2 separate regions of the Homo sapiens genome follow, and region 2 is linked to region 1. Evidence: promoter capture Hi-C in 16 types of primary human blood cells and fetal thymus (Javierre and others, 2016). All regions are on one chromosome and are shown on one strand. Each heading gives the region's core, a stretch centred on a gene start or on the middle of the fragment in contact. The rest is flanking DNA. Distances are from core to core; before and after follow the strand shown.

The links. Contacts are between HindIII fragments. The CHiCAGO score rates a contact against its expected background, and 5 or more counts as called.
Region 2: a fragment that was not itself captured here is called in contact with the fragment with the promoter of LYPLA1 in region 1 in 5 of 17 cell types (fetal thymus, total CD8 T cells, activated CD4 T cells and 2 more); the score reaches 12.5 in fetal thymus.

What each region holds. Positions count from the first base shown.
Region 1 is chr8:54,099,548-54,103,200 of GRCh38, reverse strand. LYPLA1 (lysophospholipase 1) reads left to right here and starts at 1,254. Exons shown (of 9, transcript NM_006330.4): 1 at 1,254-1,446; 2 at 2,262-2,293. The coding sequence starts at 1,378. LYPLA1-TCEA1 (LYPLA1-TCEA1 readthrough) reads left to right here and starts at 1,254. Exons shown (of 21, transcript NM_001425842.1): 1 at 1,254-1,446; 2 at 2,262-2,293. RefSeq lists a silencer at 1,131-1,700. The HindIII fragment of the contact is 1,923 bases long and covers 1-1,918 here.
Region 2 is chr8:52,709,721-52,713,332 of GRCh38, reverse strand. All of the region lies in intron 1 of RB1CC1 (RB1 inducible coiled-coil 1), which reads left to right. Among named protein-coding and RNA genes, the nearest start is that of RB1CC1, 2.9 kb to the left of the region's middle. The HindIII fragment of the contact is 3,105 bases long and covers 249-3,353 here.

The DNA.
Region 1 (3,653 bases), core at 5-2,504:
CCTTCGTGGTGAGTGTTACAGTTTTTTTTTTTTTTTTTTTTTTTTTTTGAGACAAGGTCTCTCTCTGTCTCCCAGGCTGGAGTGCAGTGACGCGATCTCAGGTCACTACAAGCTCTGCCTCTCAGGTTCACGCCATTCCCCTGCCTCAGCCTCCCAAGTAGCTTGGACTACACGACCGGCCAATTTTTTTTTTTTGTATTTTTAGTAGAGACGAGGTCTCACCGTGTTAAGGCAGGATGGTCTCGATCACCTGACCTCCTGATCCACCCGCCTCGGCCTCCCAAAGTGCTGGGAGTGTTACAGCTCTTAAAGGTCCCACAGACCCAAAGAGTGAGCAGCAGCAGCAAGATTTATTGTGAAGAGTGAAAGAACAAACTTTCCACAGTGTGGAAGGGGACCCAGGGCTGCCACTGCCAGCTAGGGGATGGGGGGCGTGGCCAGCTTTTATTTCCTTATTTGTCCCGGCCCAAGTCCTGCGGATTGGTCCACTTTACAGAACACTGATTAGCCCGTTTTACAGGGTACTGATTGGTGCATTTTACAAACCTCTAGCTAGCCACAAAGTGCTGATTGGTGCATTTTACAATCCTAGCTACAGAGTGCTGTTGGTACATTTTACAATCCTCTTGTAAGACAGAAAAGTTCTCCAAGTCCCCAACCGACCCAGAAGACCAGCTGGCTTTACCTCTCACTTAAACCTGTACTGTGTCAATATCCGTACATCAGTAAGTGTTGTCGATCAAGTTAGGGAAGTAGTGGATTTCTGGTGACAAATGTTACCCTTTCCAACTAAAGTTTAAAGAAGGTAAGTTGAACCCAAATCTACATACTGCTGTAGCCCCAAACGGAAATACTGCAAAAGCTCCATCAACGTCTCCCAGTCCATCCAGACTTTTACAAATGGATAGACCCCGGCCGCAGGAAACCAAGGAGCACCTGGGGTTGGGTTGGGTGAATTGGCTCTGGGGCTCATTCTTTTCACTACAGCGCCAGAAAAGCAAAAACCTAAACCAAGACCCAAGAGACCAGCCCTCAGCCTGCACCTGAGAGCACATTTTCCCTAGCCAGCACTGAGCATGCGCAGGCTGCGTGGTGTGGCGAAAGCGCAGCCAGGTCCGCGCTGCCGCCGCAGCCAATCGGAGGGAGGGAGCCGCCCGGACATTGTGAGGTGCCGAGGGAGGGGCGGCGGGCGAGGGGCAGGGCAGGGCGGACCCTGGACGCGCGGGCGCGCGCGGAAGGTAGCGCGGGGCCGCGTTGGCGCGCACGCGCCTGAGCGTGCGCCCGGTGGGGCCGGCCGGGACTCGCCGCTCGCACGCCCTTGGGCCGCGGCCGGGCGCCCGCTCTTCCTTCCGCTTGCGCTGTGAGCTGAGGCGGTGTATGTGCGGCAATAACATGTCAACCCCGCTGCCCGCCATCGTGCCCGCCGCCCGGAAGGCCACCGCTGCGGTGAGTGGCGTAGGCGTGGGCTCGGAGGGGTCCACTGGGCCGGCCACCGGTGGTTGCCCCTCGCGCGGGGTGGGCGTTGCGGGCGCGTGGCGGCCTGCGGACGAGGACGCTCCTCCCGGCCCGGGTGGGGTGCGAATGGTCCGCGCGGCCGGGTCCGCGGGGGGCGGGGGCAGCCGGGGGGTCACAGCCGGCGCGAGGGCCAGTCCCCAGCTCCTCCCTGCATTGCGGAGGAAGTGTGGCCCCGGGACCCCCGCGGGCCGGCCTAGGGCACGGCGTCAGCCTCTGCAGCGTGTTTCTGCCTGGTGTGTGGGTGAGGGAAACCTAAGTCCGCCAGGAAATCGCCTTATTGTCACCTCGCACTCTTATCCTCAATGAAAGAAGTTTGAAGATTGAGTGTCCTACAAGGTCAGACGTACTGTTTTTTAGAAAACTCGTGTATGAAAAGTCAAACTTATTTTTGCCTCCGGAAGCTTGCTTTTGCAGTGGAAAAATTCTACAGGATATGTGAGATGTTCCTGATTTCACTTGAAAGAGATAAACTGTTTTTCTTAGAATGTGATCATTTGCACTCAATGTCTAACTGGGACCTCTCAGTGCTACCCCCCCCCCATTCATTATCTCAGGAAATAAAGGGAGAAGTTGATCAGAATTTTTGCCATTTAAAAGAGGTCGATAAAGATTAAGTCGCCGAAGATAGTGTTGTGTAATTCTCTCGTAGGTTTCGTTCCGTTTTCCACCTTAAGCAAAGCTAGTGTGTAACAATCCTGTGTGGGCTTATTTAGGCATTGCTTATTAATTTTCCTCTTCTCTTATAGGTGATTTTCCTGCATGGATTGGGAGATACTGGGTAGGTACCATTATTATTAATAGTAACAGTAATGAAACTGGGTCATGCAACTTTTGTTTACGCGTTCAAAGGTTTAATGTTTAAGGGCGCTAAAATGGTATTTTAAGATTGCCAGTTAATGTATCTTACAGTGCGGTGATTTTATGTTTTGAAAACCCTCAGAATTTTCCCCTTATCATCGTGAGTTTATTGATTTTTTAACTCTGGTTTCTGGAACATATTAAAATTTCAAATTCCTCATTAGTTGCTTTGGGTATTGGATACCAGAGATCCGTGGAATGTTAGTAGGGACGGTGTGCAATTGAGAGCTTTCCAGAGCAGTTAAAATTTCAGAGCAGATTGAAGAGAAGAACTAGTTGATTTTGATAAGAGAACTAGTGGCAACATAAGGCATGCAGCATTCTGAATAGAGGGATTAGATGTTCACTCTAATGAGTTGAAAGGCAGGGGAGGCAACTCAAAGATTTATTTGGAGGCTTATCAAACAATTTGTTGTACTAACTACTTATTTTTATTTTATTTTTTGTTTGTTTGCTTTTTTCTTTTGTTATTATTTTTAGAGACAAGGGCTCTCTCTGTCGCCCAGGCTGGAGTGCAGTTGCAGGATCTTAGCTCACTGCAGCTTTGAACTCCTGGGCTCAAGTGATCCTTCAGCCTCAGCCTCTCAAAGCACAGAGATTAGAGGTGGGAGCTGCCTGAGCCTGGCCTTTTGTACTAACTTTAGATACATGATTTATCTTTTACTCAAGCTTTTTCTATATTGAGATGTTTTTGTTTTTATATTTAAATTGGTGATAATCTGTGAAACTTAAGCAAAATATGAATGTTGTTGAAAAATTGCAGAAATAGAGGAAAACTGAAGATAAATAAATTTTGATAAAGTAGCCCCAGAACGACTAAATTTTCTTTAAAATGAACCATTGGGGCCGGGCGCGGTGGCTCACACCTGTAATCCCAGCACTTTGGGAGGCCGAGGTGGGTAGTTCACTTGATGTCAAGAGTTCGACACCAGCTTGGCCAATATGGTGAAACCCCATCTCTACTAAAAATATAAAAATTACCCGGGTGTGGTGGTGCATGCCTGTAATCCCAGCTGCTAGGGAGGCTGAGAGAAGAGAATCACTTGAACCTGGGAGGCAGAGGCTTCAGTGAGCCAAGATTGCACGACTGCACTCCAGCCTGGGCCACAGAGTGAGACTCAAAAAAAAAAAAAATGCCATTAGGCTAGATTTTTGTTTGTTTGTTTGGAGACAGGGTCTGCTGTGTTGCCCTGGCTGGAGGGCAGTGGCGTGATCTTGACTCACTGCAACCTCCACCTTCTGGGTTCCTGGGTCTCCCGAGTAGCTGGGACTACAGTTGC
Region 2 (3,612 bases), core at 552-3,051, 1.4 Mb after region 1:
TTACTGTTTATGGTTTCGTAATCTAGTCGTTTCCATCATGACTCTTTAAAGTGTGGTCATACCTTGAAGTAGTGTAGACTTGGCTGCCAAGGAAGACTCATGTGCTCACTGTTGATAAAGAGTCACGTTACTACGAGACATTCAGCCAGATGGGAATGTTCTCAAGTCTGCTGCAAACATTTAAAGTGTACCTATTTGCTAACTATTTTATTGTGTAGTTTCTTAAGTTTTTGTGTTTTGGTGAAGCTTGTATGATTTATACATAAGTTTGGACAGTTAGCAATTTAGGAAGAGACTTAAGTAGACTTAATTGTGTGTTTAATCAAGAATGTTATTACATTGTGATAGACGATAAAAAGAGGGTCCTTCCACTTCTGATCAGATAAAACTGTGAGAAACCAAGGAACTACTGAGGGAGGTGGCTGATTTTAGTTTTTGGATTATTGGATTTATAAGCAGACCATTGCTAGGAATGTGAAAATATGTTCGCTTTTTATATTTGTTGTAACAGAATATGGCCCTAATGAAGATATTTTCTCAATAACATTCCTGTCATGTCTTTTAATGTTTGTGATTGTGTTCAAAACCTGGATAAAGTTTTATGTCAGGGATGCTTTAGGCACATAATGCTTACGTTGAGAAACCTCTGTTGATGGAAAGTGGATATTGACATAGTTCATATTTTTAAAGTAATTTTATTTAGTCTATTTTGAACTTTTTATGGTAATCAAGATATGATTATTTATGTACCTAATCCTTTATATGTTTGTTATTGGACGACAGGGAAGACAATGAAGCGGTACTTTTGTCCCTGAGTTTTTTTTTTTTTTTTTTTTGGCTCTTGCTGCCAAACACAAGATCAGGATGCATGGCAGATTTACTTTAGCAAATCAAGTTCATAAAGGCAGAAGACACAAGACTTTTGTTTTCGAAATTTTGAACCTAAATTTTGATTATGTTAGCCTGAGAAAAGTTTTTAGACTCTAATATTAACTTAAAATTTTATATCATACATTCAGCAGATATTTGAGCACCTACATGCTTTACTTTGCAGATGTGTATGTCTTATGAATATCTTTTTAAAAGAATGGCTGATAAAATTTTCTCATTCAGGTAATGATATTTTCTGACTCCAGTTACACTTTTCTTTTGTAGTAATACTGGCCTAAGACACTTTGAAAATCTAGCAGTCCCTTTCAACACACTTTCACGATTCTTTTATTATCTTTTTACCACTGTGAGGTTTTTGAACTAGTTACATGAGGAACATAAAAATGTTTAAGTAATTGTTCTTGAGTAGAGACGGGGTTTTACCATGTTGGCCAGGCTGGTCTTGAACTCCTGACCTCAGGTGATCTGCCTGCCTCGGACTCCCAAAGCCCGGCCACTGATTGCCTTTTGAATAAAGGCCCAAGAGAAGTAAGGGGTGTAAGTGTGTGACTCTCGAAAGGAATTTTTGGCAGAAGAAACAGTAAATGGAAAGGCTCTGATATACATGGCATATACCAAGAAAAATGAAGTTACTGAAGCTGGACTGGTATGAGAGAGGCGATAGTAATGGTAGATTGTGGGGCTCTACATATTCAGGTTTGGAAGTCATAGTAAGGAAACTAATGTGCTCTAACTCACAAAGGTCTACAGATGAATTCAAGTAAACCCAGCATGGCTGGAAAGCAGTTGAAGCCAAATTCACTTCATTTATTCCTGAAATGCTAATTGAACCCCTGCAGCATACTCTTTTAGCTTCAGCAATGCAACAGTGAACAAGAAAGACATATCTGTCTATGTATATATATTTATTTATAGGAAATGGGTAACCACTGGAAATTTTCATGGAGGTAAATGACAAACGCAGATTACTTTGAGGATGTAGAGTAGATAAAAGGCTAGCTAAGCCGATTGTATAGTGCTAGGTTGATGAGTTTTTGCTTAACTCACATAGATAAAAGGATGTGAAGATTACTTGTCTCTGATTATTTATTATGGACCAAATCAACTTAATTTGACTGTAAACTGTACCCCCATTGTTTAGGGTCCTGAGAGGATGGCATTTCTTTCTATCCCTTTGTAAAGTTCCGGTTCTGTTGGATTACTTTTTGTAAGTGCAGTACTTGAATGCCTCCAAGTACCCTCTTTCCTTGGCTAATTTGTTTCTGCTTTCATGGCTGTTTAGTGAGTGCTTTGAGGATTGTGGAATAACAATCCTCGCCCATTTTTTTTCATCCATGATTTTTTTCTACCCGTTAGTTTGCTCTTTTGAACTCTCATATTTTATTGGCTTGTAATTGTGCTAGGAGATAAAAATAATTGTGTTCCATTTCCTTTTTTTGTCACTGATTTGAGACTGTCCACTCATTTTTCCTTCACATTCCACACATTATACTTGTTCAGTAACTGTCCAGCATACCTGTTGAAATATTAATTCAATACCATATTATATTACAGTAATATAACGGCTTTTAGTAATTGTTTTACTGCAAATACCAGATTTGGGCAGGCTGGTTTAATAATTTGGTTATATGTTTATAGATAATCTTGGTTTAATAGAATGCAGCTAATTCTACATTTTCTTTTTTTTCCCCATTTTCCCTGTCTTATATAATTCTATATTTGCTATATAGATAATTTTGGTTTTACTGTTAGTTTCCGTTATAAAATAAAACACAACTAGAAAATTTTCACTAAAATCATGCATTTTATGTAGTTTTTATAAACGATAGGGACACCAAAATGTGTAATGCATTTATATGTACTGATACAGAAAGATTTCTGTTATTTTATGCAGTTCAAGCAAAGTCCATAGTAGTATGTAGGGTGTCACCTCATTTTTATAAAACCATATTGCCTGAATATACACATATTTCCTGTACACCTAGGGAAAAAAACCTGAAGGGTGTACTCCAAAGTATTTTTCATTTTTGTTTTAAAAGTATTCCTGTTCTGCTATTTTTACCTCATTTGCTGTCTTTGGGCACTACCTTTCTAAATGCTCGCTTCATTCTTTTGGCGAAGTTGCTTGTCTAGTTTGTAGACAAGGCGTATATTTAGGAAGTCTGAACTTTTATGAAAAAGGTTTTCTTTCAGGGAAATGTGAGGAAAATGCCTGACCTACTCATCTTTCATTCTTTTTCTTGGCAGAGAAGGGGTAGGATCAGATTAGAATACATCTGATTTGGGGAGACTGATGCCCAGTTTTCAGTCCCTGGGCAACCTAGACACTCCGTTTGTGGTGGACATTATCTCCATTGATGCAGTAGCCCGTGACCCCTCAATGAGGGAGAATTGCTAATAATTGCAGTTTACAGAATTAGAGATCAGGCAAAATTATTTCCAATCATCTTTTCTCTGAAGCTTTTAGTCCACTTTAGGGTTATCTGAGTCTCATGTGTTCTATTCAGCTGGAAAGCATCTTGAAGATATTTGTATTCCAGGCACCTAGCAGTGTCTGGCTTATGTTTAGATGCCCCCAAAATAGTGGATGAATAATGAATGTGTCCAGTTTTGAAGGTCAGAGATTGTCATTGGGGTGTCCCCCTTTCACCTTATCATATAAGGAAGCGAATTCTGTTTTGTTTGTTTGTTTTTGTTTTTTAAGGCAGAGTCTTACTTTGT